3 separate regions of the Homo sapiens genome follow, and all the other regions are linked to region 3. The links are contacts of gene promoters, found by promoter capture Hi-C in blood cells and fetal thymus (Javierre and others, 2016). All regions are on one chromosome and are shown on one strand. Each heading gives the region's core, a stretch centred on a gene start or on the middle of the fragment in contact. The rest is flanking DNA. Distances are from core to core; before and after follow the strand shown.

Region 1 (4,469 bases), core at 1,216-3,715, 660 kb before region 3:
TAACAGAAAACCTTGACCCTCCCCAATTGTGACATCAAAGGCCTGCAATAGCTGGAAAGAATAGAGGCCCCCAATCACATGGGGAAGGGAGCCCCAGCTGTGTGCTGCCTACAATGAGGCTCTTGGCCTGTGTGCTGATTATTTCCTGGAGTATATGCCTTCCTAACCCCTCAGGGCTTAACCGCCAGCTCTATTCTCAGCTAGCTAATGCTGATTTCCTCACCTTTGCCTCTTTCCATACATTGAGCTACTGAAGCATAGATGAAGCACTGGAAGCAAGTTTTTCCAGAATGCTCTTCACTTCCTAGTATCCTACTCTATATTTGCTAACACCTAACTACACTGCCTTTTACTTAATCTGTGATTTCTTCTCTCAATATTTTACTAGCAAGAGGAGAGGATGTTCCTCACCCTTGAGGGGATATTGAGTTAAACCCCTAGCCTGCCTCCCCTCTTAATTGCTGCAGGGATAGAGAATGGAACAGTTGGCCAAGGCTGCAGCTAGTTTTGATCACTGAAACTGGCTTCCTACTCCAGCATGTTTTTCAAATTACGTGGCTGGTGGTGCTTCTACCTTTAAAAGTGGGTGTGTGTCACTCTGGCTGATTGCTGGACAGAGGTCCAGCTTTCTCTTTTTCGCTTGTTCAACCAAGGCCCATTTTATCTGAGGCTTAAATGTACCTGCCTATCTGTGTGGCTAGTCCTAGGTAGGTTCGTCTGGTTTGGGTTGCTATGGCTGATAGACTCCACCAGGCAGCACCAAAGCCGGTAAACTAACCTCTGCTAATATCTGTCTTTCTCAATAGCCATTCATGCTTTATCTTTTGCTGCTCTACCATGTGCTCCAGCATGAGATCAAATCACCAGCAGGTTACAAGGCCTCAGCCCCAGGGATTGGTAGATATATGTTCTGGCCCATTGTTTTATAAAGGGCTCAAGAGACCAAAGCTTGTTGCCTACTTACCTTGACAACTCTAAAGTAGCTCTGTGAAGTAGAGTCATGCCTCGCTTAATGACAGGGATATGTTCTGAGAATGTGGGGCAATTTCATTGTGCACATATCAGAGTGTACTTAACAGTCCTAGACAGAACAGCCTACACACCTAAACTATATGGTATGGCGTTTTCCTCCTAGGCTACAAACCTGGGCAGCATGTTACAGAAAGAATACTGTAGGCAATTGTGGGTTTTTTTGATTCAGGCTATTCCTGGGATACTGTAGGCAATTGTAACGCAATGGTAAGTATTTGTGTATCTAAACATAGAAAAGGTACAGTAAAAATATGGTATAATCTTATGGGACCACCATAGTGTATGTGGCCTGTCGTTAACTGAAACATCATTATGCAGTGCATGACTGTATGAAGGATTTCTCTTCTGTGAGGTGTAACAGAATGGACTGGCTGAGGAAAAAGGGGTCACGGGCATGCGTGCACATGCACTCTGTCTGTGACTAATAGAATGGTGCTCAGAGTTCCTCACCTTTTACTCCTAACGCAGCCTATTGCAGGCTAGGGATCTCAGAGAAACTACCTTCAAGGGACCTTTTGCTGACACTTAACCAAACTTAGAAGGGTGGGCCATGTGTAAGAGAGGCAGTATGGCCACTGATGTTATTTATTTTTCAACAGCGAGAACTTTCAAAGGCTTCCAAATCTGATGCTACTTCTGGAATCCTCAATTCAACCAACATCCAGTCCTGAGAAGCCCTGATCAGTCAACCAGCTGTGGCTTCCTGTGCCTAGACTGGACCTAATTATATGGGGGTGACTTTAGTTTTTCTTCAGCTTAGGCGTGCTTGAAACCTTGGCCAGGTTCCATGACCATGGGCCTAACTTAAAGATGTGAATGAGTGTTACAGTTGAAAGCCCATCATAGGTTTAGTGGTCCTAGGAGACTTGGTTTTGACTTATATACATGAAAAGTTTATGGCAAGAAGTGCAAATTTTAGCATATGGGGCCTGACTTCTCTACCACATAATTCTACTTGCTGAAGCATGATCAAAGCTTGTTTTATTTCACCACTGTAGGAAAATGATTGACTATGCCCATCCCTGGGGGTAATTTTGGCATGTATACCTGTAACTAGTAATTAACATCTTTTTTGTTTAGGCATGTTCAATTAATGCTGTAGCTATCATAGCTTTGCTCTTACCTGAAGCCTTGTCCCCACCACACAGGACAGCCTTCCTCCTGAAGAGAATGTCTTTGTGTGTCCGAAGTTGAGATGGCCTGCCCTACTGCCAAAGAGGTGACAGGAAGGCTGGGAGCAGCTTTGTTAAATTGTGTTCAGTTCTGTTACACAGTGCATTGCCCTTTGTTGGGGGTATGCATGTATGAACACACATGCTTGTCGGAACGCTTTCTCGGCGTTTGTCCCTTGGCTCTCATCTCCCCCATTCCTGTGCCTACTTTGCCTGAGTTCTTCTACCCCCGCAGTTGCCAGCCACATTGGGAGTCTGTTTGTTCCAATGGGTTGAGCTGTCTTTGTCGTGGAGATCTGGAACTTTGCACATGTCACTACTGGGGAGGTGTTCCTGCTCTAGCTTCCACGATGAGGCGCCCTCTTTACCTATCCTCTCAATCACTACTCTTCTTGAAGCACTATTATTTATTCTTCCGCTGTCTGCCTGCAGCAGTACTACTGTCAACATAGTGTAAATGGTTCTCAAAAGCTTACCAGTGTGGACTTGGTGTTAGCCACGCTGTTTACTCATACAGTACGTGTCCTGTTTTTAAAATATACAATTATTCTTAAAAATAAATTAAAATCTGTATACTTACATTTCAAAAAGATATAGTGTGGTGTTTCCTTTTTTTCCCCAGTCACTTTTTAGTTGGTTGGTCTGTGTGTGAAAAACAAACACAAAAAACTAAAAGGACCTCCTGGAAATTTTTAGTCAGGAGTGTGATTTTTTTTTTTGAGTCTCACTCTGTCGCCCAGGCTGGAGTACAGTGGCACTATCTTGGTTCAGTGCAACTTCCACCTCCCAGGTTCAAGCGATTCTCCTGCCTCAGCCTCCCGATTTGCTGGGATTACAGGCACGCACCATCACACCTGGCTAATTTTTGTATTTTTAGTAGAGACAGGCTTTCACCATGTTGGCCAGGCTGGTCTTGAACTCCTGACCTCAGATGATCTGCCTGCCTCCCAAAGTGCTGGGATGACAGGCATGAGCCACAGCACCCGGCCGAGTGTGATTTTTAAAATATTCTCTGGTACATTTCTAAATTAAGAATATCTCTTACTCTAATTTTTTGGTGAGAAATATAAAACCTAACCCCTGATGTGTAGAGAGCAAAGGGAGTCCTAGGATGCTTCTGGCTTCAATGCCGTTTGTCTCAATATGGGGAGGCTGCCCAACTTCAACAGCGTTACTGAAGGAGGATGGACATAAACTGCACACATGTGAAGCGTAAGAGAAAAACCATCGCCACAGTCCAGTTAACCAAGTCTCTCTACCCCAGCAGTTCTTCCCACCCCTTTCTCACTCCTCCTTCCCAGCCTCACCCTGCCGAGCAACCACTGATTTTTTTTTTTTTTTTTTTTTTTTTTTTTGAGATGGAGTCTCGCTCTTGCCAGGCTGGAGTGCAGTGGCACAATCTCAGCTCACTGCAATCTCTGCCTCCCAGGTTCAAGGGATTCTCCTGCCTCAGCCTCCCGCGTAGCTGGGACTGCAGGCACGTGCCATCACGCCTGGTAAATTTTTGTATTTTTGGTACAGACAGACAGGGTTTCACTGTATTAGCTAGGATGGTCTCGATCTCCTGACCTCATGATCCGCCCACCTCGGCCTCCCAAAGTGCTAGGACTACAGGCATGAGCCACTGTACCTGGCCCACCGATTTGTTACTACAGATTAGTTTGCGTTTTCTACAGTTCGATGTAAGTAGAATCATACAGTATATATTTTTTTGGTCTGGTTCTTTCACTACTTTCAGATTTACCCATATTGTTGCTTATATCCATAATTCTTTTTTTTTTTTTTTTTTTTTTTTTTTTTTTTTTTTGCTTAGTATTCCATGGTGTTGATATACCAGTTTATTCGCCTGTTAGGTTTATTTTTCACATTTGGCTTTTCTCCAGTTTTTGGCTATTAAAAACAAGGCTGTTATAAACATTCATGTACAAGTCTTTGTATGGATATATTTTTTTTTCTGGATAAATACCTAGGAGTGAAATGGCTGGATCACATCTATGGTATGTGTACACTTAACTTTTTAAGAAATGCCAAACTGGGCCGGGCATGGTGGCTCACGCCTGTAATCCCAGCACTTTGGGAGGCTAAGGTGGGCAGATCACGAGGTCAGGAGTTCGAGACCAGCCTGGCCAACATGGTGAAACCCCATCTCTACTAAAAATACAAAAATTAGCTGGCTGTGGTGGCACACACCTGTAATCTCAGCTATTCAGGAGGCTGAGGAAGGAGAATTCCTTGAACTCAGGAGGCGGAAGTGGCAGTGAGCTG
Region 2 (4,374 bases), core at 1,048-3,547, 550 kb after region 3:
GCCCTTTTCTAATATTCTTTAACAACTCTGCTTTCTTGGATGGGAATTCATGAGCTCTAGTACTTGAGGAGATTTTCATCTGTAGATGTTAGGATTTTCTTATCTACTATATTCAGCACCCATCCTGGAGCAAACTCAAAGAAAATCTGCCTTGGATCCTTCTGAGTACTGAACATTTGAAGAGTTCTTCTTTCGTGATATCCAGTAAATTAGAACTGTCCTTCCTGGCAAGCTCAAGTTGTGCTTCAGGAAATTTGGCAGGATCTGCCAGGTTCCCACGATTCTTTGCATTGGTGGAATATGGTACCAGTGCTTCAGAAGGAAGCATTCTTTTTGGAATGGGTTGTCTCCAAAAAGAATGGAACAGGTTTGGATAGAATTTCCAGACTTCTTGGATCCTGTAAGGCTGTAGTGACACCACCACCATTTTTTTCAATTGCAGCAATAGCTAGTTCTGAAGCCAACTGTACTTCAATATTAACTTTTTTTTTTTTTTTTTTTTTTTTGGACAGGGGGTCTCACTCTGTCATCAGACTGGAGTGCAGTGGCATGATCTCAGCTCACTGCAACCTCCACCTCCCGGGTTCAAGTGATTCTCCTACCTCAGCCTCCCAAGTAGCTGGGACTACAGGCACGTGCCACCATGCCTGGCTAATTTTTGCATTTTTAATAAGACGGGGTTTCACCACGGTGGCCAGGGTGGTCTCAATCTCCTGACCTCATGATCCACCCCCCTTGGCCTGCCAAAGTGCTGGGATTACAGGTGTGAGCCACCGCGCCCGGCCCAATATTAACTTTCACCTGAAAGGTGTCTGCGGCCTTTTCGACCAGCTGAACACCATAATCCTCTTTAAGTGGCTGAATGGTCACACCTCTTCCATTGACAAGCTGGGTTAAGTCAATAGGTTGAGTAGGATCAACACGACCCAAATCAGTAACATATTACAGTCTATTGATACTTAAAGGTTGATACTGGTGTCTGAAGCTAAGTCCTTCATTAAATCTGTATTTTGGGATTCCGATGTAAAATAGAGTCTGGCCATCCCCAAAGCCCAGCAGAGCCAGTTTCCTCTCTGCCTTTCTCTTTTATGGCCTCTGCCGCATTTTCTACCTCTTCTCCGACCTTTTGGTCGTCTCATGGGTTTCCTGGAGCCAGGATTCCGCTTTAAATTGGTCAGGCTCATGCGCAGCAGGGCCCAGAGCTGCCATAACCTGCGAAAAGAGTTTTATTTCTTCCTTTCTGACCTGTATGTCTTTTGTTTCCTAATTGCATAGCCTAGATCCTCCATCTGGTACAATGTTGAATAGGAGTGGTAAGAGAGACACCCTCGCTTTGTTCCTGCAATCGGGGGGTGGGGGGAAGATTTCAGTCTTTCACTACTCAGTATGAGGCTACCTGTAGGTTCTTTGTAGGAGCCTTTCATCAGGTTGATGAAATTCCTCTCTATTCTTAGTTTGCTGAGAATTTTCATCACGAAGGGTGTTGGATTTTGTCAAATGCCTTTGCTGCGTCATTTCCACTCACATTTCATTGGGAAAACCTGTTATACCTGTCCAATAGCGGCAGAACATCAGGTAAAGGCCAGTGGTGACAGCTGTGGCAACAGGCCAAGCTCCAGACCTTGCCAGGCTAGAGGTGGCCTGGGGTTGGAGCAGGCTTAACCCCCTCCCTCTGCTCAGAAGGTCCAGCATCCTGACCAGACTCGGCAGCTTATTGAATTTGCCGGGGTGCAAGCTTCCTTGCACTGTCCACATGTTCTTACCAGGGAAGGGTCTACCCAGGGCCATCCTGCCTCAAAGGAGAAGTGGTTTACTGTTTTCTCCACCTTTAGAGGGAATGAGGGTCCCTGCTCCTGGTCCTTACTCTACTCCACTGTCCAATTGGCGCATGCCCTGAGGCTCTCATTATACAAATTGGAAGCTAAGGTGCAAAAGAACTAAGAATTTGCATAAGGTCCCCAACAGGTGAAGGCAGGCCCCAAACCTAGGATCTAGATTTCGTTTTTCTGACCCCGCTTCCTTTAACCTGCAGGGCTGGCCCAACGCCCCGGGCTTCACCCAACACTGGGCGCAGGCGGGAAGGCCGAGAGGCTGGGTCGGGCGCCCAAGCGAGGGCCCAGGTGGGGCGAAACAGGCGCAGTCAAGGGGCTGGCACCTTGGCCCCCCGCCGTGGATTCAAAGGGTCAGGCTCCGCCCCCTCCAAGCCCCGAGCCCACTTTGATGTGCTGATGCGGCCTGGAAGGGGCCACTTCACACCTCGGGCTCGGCATAAAGCGGCCGCCGGCCGCCGGCCCCCAGACGCGCCGCCGCTGCCATGGCCCAGCCCCTGTGCCCGCCGCTCTCCGAGTCCTGGATGCTCTCTGCGGCCTGGGGCCCAACTCGGCGGCCGCCGCCCTCCGACAAGGACTGCGGCCGCTCCCTCGTCTCGTCCCCAGACTCATGGGGCAGCACCCCAGCCGACAGCCCCGTGGCGAGCCCCGCGCGGCCAGGCACCCTCCGGGACCCCCGCGCCCCCTCCGTAGGTAGGCGCGGCGCGCGCAGCAGCCGCCTGGGCAGCGGGCAGAGGCAGAGCGCCAGTGAGCGGGAGAAACTGCGCATGCGCACGCTGGCCCGCGCCCTGCACGAGCTGCGCCGCTTTCTACCGCCGTCCGTGGCGCCCGCGGGCCAGAGCCTGACCAAGATCGAGACGCTGCGCCTGGCTATCCGCTATATCGGCCACCTGTCGGCCGTGCTAGGCCTCAGCGAGGAGAGTCTCCAGCGCCGGTGCCGGCAGCGCGGTGACGCGGGGTCCCCTCGGGGCTGCCCGCTGTGCCCCGACGACTGCCCCGCGCAGATGCAGACACGGACGCAGGCTGAGGGGCAGGGGCAGGGGCGCGGGCTGGGCCTGGTATCCGCCGTCCGCGCCGGGGCGTCCTGGGGATCCCCGCCTGCCTGCCCCGGAGCCCGAGCTGCACCCGAGCCGCGCGACCCGCCTGCGCTGTTCGCCGAGGCGGCGTGCCCTGAAGGGCAGGCGATGGAGCCAAGCCCACCGTCCCCGGTTAGTGTCCCCTTCCCCGCGCCCCCTTCGTCCGTGCCCCCGCGCACAGCCCCACCGCCCGCCAAGGTGAGGACCAGGCACCCTGCTGCTCCCCGCCGGCAGCCTGGCCACCTGGCCACCATAGTATGCCCAGGGCTCCAAGAAGCGAAGGCAGGGAAAGGCCACGCAGAGGACTGGGTCTCCCCTCGCTAGGGGCCCCCTGAGAGTGGAGCCCACGAGCGCGGACACCCGCACAAGGCCACCAGTGCTTGAGGGCTGCGCTGTTCCGTCTCTCCCTACAGCTCCTTCCGGGCGACGTGCTGGCTCTGTTGGAGACCTGGATGCCCCTCTCGCCTCTGGAGTGGCTGCCTGAGGAGCCCAAGTGACAAGGGACAACTGACGCCGTCTCTGTGAGCACCGAGGCTTTTTGGCCTCAGCACCTTCGAAGTGGTTCCTTGGCAGACTGCCTTTCCTGGAAGAGGGCACGGGCGATCCCGACGGGGGCATTCCTGCGGGTGAGAGCCGTCCCCACCGCGGCGGCCCTTCTCAGCCCCTCCCTCCATGGAGGGACCCATAGGGCTAGACACTTTGAGGCAAGCAGGAGGCTCTGCCTAATGTGAATTTATTTATTTGTGAATAAACTGTACTGGTGTCAGTTGGCAATTTCTTCTTCCTACCCGTGGACACAGAGCTCCCTCTCTCCCTCCAAAGAAGAGCATGGGAGAGGTGGGAGGGGTTCTTGCAATCTTTAGCCCCCCGACCCCCACAGGCCCAGACCCCTTTGGCCTTACCCCCAGCCCTGGCTCAGCATCTAGTCCAGATGGGTCAGCCTGGAATGGGTGGGGAGGGACGTCCTGTGAGAAGGCAGCGGCAAGTAGAATCTGCTCATCTTTTCTTTGAACCTGGTGGGGAACTGGTTAAAACCAAAATATCTGTGTAGAAATACAACTCCATTATTGAGTATTTATTGTATGTACATCAGGTACCTATTATACTCAAGTAACCATTTTACAGAAGGATGAGGATCAGCGCTCAAGCCCAGGTAGGCCTCCAGAGTCCCAGCGCTCAGCTCTTGTGGGATTTTGCCAGCTCCATACATGTTGGGGCCTGAGGGATAACAGCTCCAAGGGGTTATTTTCTTGCATCCTGTGGTCTTATTCTCCATGCACGGGAGCATCCTGGCCTTGGAACTCCCCCACCCTCCGCCGGCATTTTCCCATCTGCCTTTTCTCTGGTTTCCCCACCTTGTGGCTTAGAGACATAAATAATGGTGTGGCGGTCCTGAGTTTATATAACCATGACCTCCTACAGGCCTAGATGGGGTGAGATGAGGGGCCCATGGGGTTGCATCGGAATCC
Region 3 (4,484 bases), core at 624-3,123:
TCGTGTTTTCAAACAACAGGATAACTTTCAAAGCCTTTCCTTTCTTTTTTCACTCTACCCACAACCCCTTGGCTGTTCAAATGCCTAAGTTCACCCTTCAGCTAAAGAGACAGTGCAACTTTTATAGTCAAGAATGTAGGCCAAGAAGCCAGACTTCCTGGGGCTGAATCCAATTTGCCAGGGAGACTTATGGAATCTCTCAGGTCCTCGGTTTCTGCATCTGTCAAGTGGGAATGATACTAATAGTTCTTATCCCAGAAGATTATTATGTGAGTCAAATCAGTTCATATGTGTAAAGTGCTTAGAAAGGTTACGTAACAGACTTAAGAGCATTTGCTGAGAAACAACCACCACAACAACACATCACAAGTGGGTAAGGATGAACAGAAAGTGCAAACGGCCTTAGAACAGAGATCATATTCCACCCTTTGTCCCTCTGATTGAGGAGAGGGGATTGCCTGCATCTGTATTTCTTCCCCTAGCATATCCATATATTCTAGAACTCTGGATATGTTCTTTGTGTAAGGTGAACTTAGTTCAGAAATATTTTCTCAGCTTTTACTCTCTTTTTACAGAGTAAGACTTGATCTCTTTTGTGAAGAGCTATTTCTGGCTAGCTTCAAACTACCATTTCAATTAGTGGCCATTGTTTATGCCCATGATGTATAAGCTGAACTGCCCCTGCATTCTTTATTATTTTTTTTGAGATGGAGTCTTGCTCTGTCGCCCAGGCTGAAGTGCAGTGGCACGATCTCGGCTCACTGCAGCCTCCGCCTCCTGGGTTCAAGAGATTCTCCTGCCTCAGCCTACCGAGTAGTTGGGATTATAGGCACCCGACACCAGGCCCAGCTAATTTTTTTTGTATTTTTAGTAGAGACGGGGCTTTGCGACGTTGGCCAGGCTGGTCTCAAACTCACGACCTCATGATCCACCAGCCTTGGCCTCCCAAAGTGCTGGGATTATAGGCGTGAGCCATCGCTCCTGGCCTGCCCCTGCATTCTATAATCCAGTCCCAAGGAAGGGGAGAAAAATGCCAGGAGAGCGTGGGGAAGAAAAAAGCAATCATCGCCCACCCACCAGAAAATCTCCCTGCTCTCATATTTACTCTTTAATGACAGAACTGGATTTATGTACACACTTAGCTAATGACATGTTTACATGTCTTGTCTCCTCTTGATCCTAAGGTAGTGTCTATTCCCTGCCTATGTCTTCTTGGTGCTCAGAACAGTGCTACATTTACCTATGGGTAGAAAATACAATTTGCTGACAAACTATAAACCAATAGAAATAGACCATGTATGAGACTAGTATTAAAGGTTTTAAAAATAGTCTGTTTTAAAAATACAGTCTGTCAAATTTATAAGCTTTAAATGACCAAAATTAAAGGAAAGAGTTAAAGAAAATGAGAGTGGTTTCTATTTTTTGAATCACATTTTCTGCTTTCATTGCCATATGCCTATAAAAGGAATTAGATATATAGTGGGTGTGAAGCACTTATGTAAGTTGTGTATATATATATATATGGTAGATTTATGTGTGTGAGGTATGTGTGTGTGTATTATGTGTGTGAATTAAGCTGTCAAGTCAGCACACACAAGGAGAAAATCATGTACAGAAGTGCTTCAGAAAATTGCGTATTATCACTTGAGGCTCCATACTTAGAAGCCCAAACACTAAGATTTAGCTTCTTTTGTTTCTATTTACATTCTCTCTGTCATCTCATTCTCTTTGGACCCCTGGAGGCTAGAGTCTAGTTTGAAAGGGAGGATACATGCAACAGGGTAAAAAATGTTTTCTTTACTTGTTTGTGCACTAAGATTTATGAAAATTAAATTCTTTAAAAATGCAACTTCACAGTGTGTGTGTATGTCTGTGGTGCGTGTGTATATATATACATTTGTTTGTTTGTTTGTTTGTTTTGTTTTGTTTTGGGATGAGTTTGGCTCTGTTGCCCAGGATGGGGTGCCTTGGTATGATCTCGGCTCATTGCAACCTCTGTCTCCGGGGTTCAAGTGATTCTCCCACCTCAGCCTCTGGAGTAGCTGGGATTACAGGGGCAAACCACCATGCCTGGCTAATTTTTGTATTTTTAGTAGAGGCGGGGTTTTGCCGTGTTGGCCAGGCTGGTCTCGAACTCCTGACCTCAAGTGATCTGTCTGCCTCAGCCCCTCAAAGTGCTGGGATTACAGCCGAGAGCCACCATGCCCGGCCCGTCTGTAGTATATTATAATCTATACACTTTGATTTTTATTATTTCACATAACTTTTACAACAAATCTGTAAAACACATTTTCCATTTACAGATCAGGAAACTAAGAGCATCAAAGTGATTTTCTCAGTGTAGGTGGTACTGGTAGGTTGGAACTGGGGAAGCAAGCTTACAGTTTGATGTTTACCCACTAGCACTACCTCCTTCGAAGCTGATCACAATCATAACAGTGAGAGAAGCTTTGAAACTCCCTTTTACAGCACTGGAAGGGACCTTAATTAAGACCTTTCTATTTACAGGGAAGGGAACTGAAGCCCAGAGATACCAAGAGTTGGCCCAGGTCACACCTTGGCGATTGTGGAAGGACTAAGAGAACAGGCCTGGCTCTGACACCCCGCCCTTTCTCCATCCCACCTCCTGCCGCCCCAGCCAGGAGGCCAGATCTCACAATGCAGTCAGAAAAATCCTTTGCTAAAAAATATTAAGACTAGAATGCTAAGAAGAAACATTAACAGTTCCATAGGAAAATGACAAAAAGCATGCAAAGGTAATTTATGAAGAAACAAATTTTTTTTTAAAGTTTGACTTATGTTGTCAAGTAAGAAATGCAAATTAAAAGAAAAACCATTTTGACTCAGTTGACAATGACTTTTTTTTTTTTTTAACCCATAGGTGTTGTTTCGAGAGGCAGGCCTTGCTGTATGACTGAAACACACTCTTGTAGCTGGTGGAAGTAAAACTATTACACTCTTTCAAGAAAGCAATTGGGCCGGGCATGGTGGCTCACGCCTGTAATCCCAGCACTTTGGGAGGCCGAGGCGGGTGGATCACGAGGTCAGGAGATCGAGACCATCCTGGCTAACACAGTGAAACCCCGTCTCTACTAAAAATACAAAAAATTAGCCGGGCGTGGTGGCGGGCACCTGTAGTCCCAGCTACTCGGGAGGCTGAGGCAGGAGAATGGCATGAACCGGGGAGGCGGAGCTTGCAGTGAGCCGAAATCACACCACTACACACCAGCCTGGGCGACAGAGCAAGACTCTGTCTCCCCAAAAAAAAAAAAAAAAAAAAAAAAGGAAAGCAATCGAGCATTGTGTATCTAGAACCTGAAAAATATTTAAGGCTTTTGATCTAACAATCTGAATCCTAGGGAAGCTTTCCAAAGATAATCAGGTATGTGACCAAAGAATATTACATGCAACATTATTTATAATGTTGAAAAATTGATCATCTCTTATGTCCCAAGTAGAATGGTTTAATAATGTAAACTGATGTGATGTGATGTGATATGATGTGAGCTGAGGTGAGGCAGCTTTAAAATCATAGCTTGGAATATTATTTGATAAACTGGGAAAAGGTTTGTGATATATTAAGTGAAAAGGAGATTCCAAAACGAAATAACCTGATTTTAAAATTAGTAGTAGTAGTGTATTGAGAAAAGGGTTGGAAGGGAATCAATTCAAGGCTATCATTTCTGGATAGTCAGTCTTGGAACATGCCCTGCTCTTAGTAAGGCATGCACTTTTATTTGTTGCTGGAATAAGCAAATGAATAAATTGTGGGGTTATGGATAAATCTTCTTCTCCATAGGTTTTGGAATTTCCCAAATTTTATACAATGAGAATGTATTTTTATCATAAAAACTAACCATTATGAAAAACATGTAGTATGTTGACACTCACTGAACAAGATAGAAAAAACCCTAGTAATTTTGTTCAATGTCCTTCAGTTTTACCATTTTCCAAAAGTTTAGAATACTGAAACCAACACTGGCTCATTTCCTTTTCATGGAGGGGGCTGGATGGATCCTTTAAAGAAGCCAAATCTTTTGTCATCTCTAGGCTTCAGGTCCCTCCTCCGGAAACAAAAGGAACTTAAGGTCCTTTCTGGCCTTAAAAAAGGGAGCTATAGATTCATTCCTGCTCAGTGGTCCTGGTTGATAGAATTCTTCCTTCATCAACAGCCTCTGCTAAAGAGCACCCTCAAAATTAAAGTCATGGTAAAAACTCTTGCCAGTTTTGCAGACATTTTTGTTTTGCTGCATGACTTTTGGACGAGAACTAGACTTGTGTCATTTCCATGTGAACAGACACGTGTTTTCCAGAGGGCAGACTGTGGTTAGGGCTGTGTCCCTGCGACCTTGTCTCTGCATAACCCAACGGGTCTGCATGAGAATAGGACTTTTCATCTCATTTTCACTGGTTTCATAATTAACCAAAGCACTTCGTATGTGCTAGAGGTCATGGTGGGAACGCTCAGGGTAAGGCTGTGGATG

The links. The method cuts DNA at HindIII sites, captures the fragments that hold promoters and counts their contacts. A CHiCAGO score of 5 or more calls a contact.
Region 1: a contact is called between the fragment with the promoter of PRC1-AS1 here and a fragment that was not itself captured in region 3, in 2 of 17 cell types (total B cells and naive B cells). The highest score is 5.5, in total B cells.
Region 2: a contact is called between the fragment with the promoter of MESP1 here and a fragment that was not itself captured in region 3, in 1 of 17 cell types (neutrophils). The highest score is 5.0, in neutrophils.

Annotation. Positions count from the first base shown.
Region 1 is chr15:90,964,365-90,968,833 of GRCh38, reverse strand. PRC1-AS1 (PRC1 antisense RNA 1) reads right to left here and starts at 2,465. Exons shown (of 4, transcript NR_051984.1): 1 at 2,156-2,465. PRC1 (protein regulator of cytokinesis 1) reads left to right here. Exons shown (of 15, transcript NM_003981.4): 15 at 1,632-2,794. The coding sequence ends at 1,703. The HindIII fragment of the contact is 668 bases long and covers 2,010-2,677 here.
Region 2 is chr15:89,749,172-89,753,545 of GRCh38, reverse strand. MESP1 (mesoderm posterior bHLH transcription factor 1) reads left to right here and starts at 2,297. Exons shown (of 2, transcript NM_018670.4): 1 at 2,297-3,037; 2 at 3,319-3,671. The coding sequence starts at 2,315. The coding sequence ends at 3,402. It also overlaps the pseudogene MRPL15P1. RefSeq lists silencers at 2,247-2,676, 2,737-3,026. The HindIII fragment of the contact is 7,264 bases long and covers 1,738-4,374 here.
Region 3 is chr15:90,301,974-90,306,457 of GRCh38, reverse strand. No RefSeq gene overlaps it. Among named protein-coding and RNA genes, the nearest start is that of NGRN, 39 kb to the right of the region's middle. RefSeq lists an enhancer at 2,832-2,881. The HindIII fragment of the contact is 1,013 bases long and covers 1,367-2,379 here.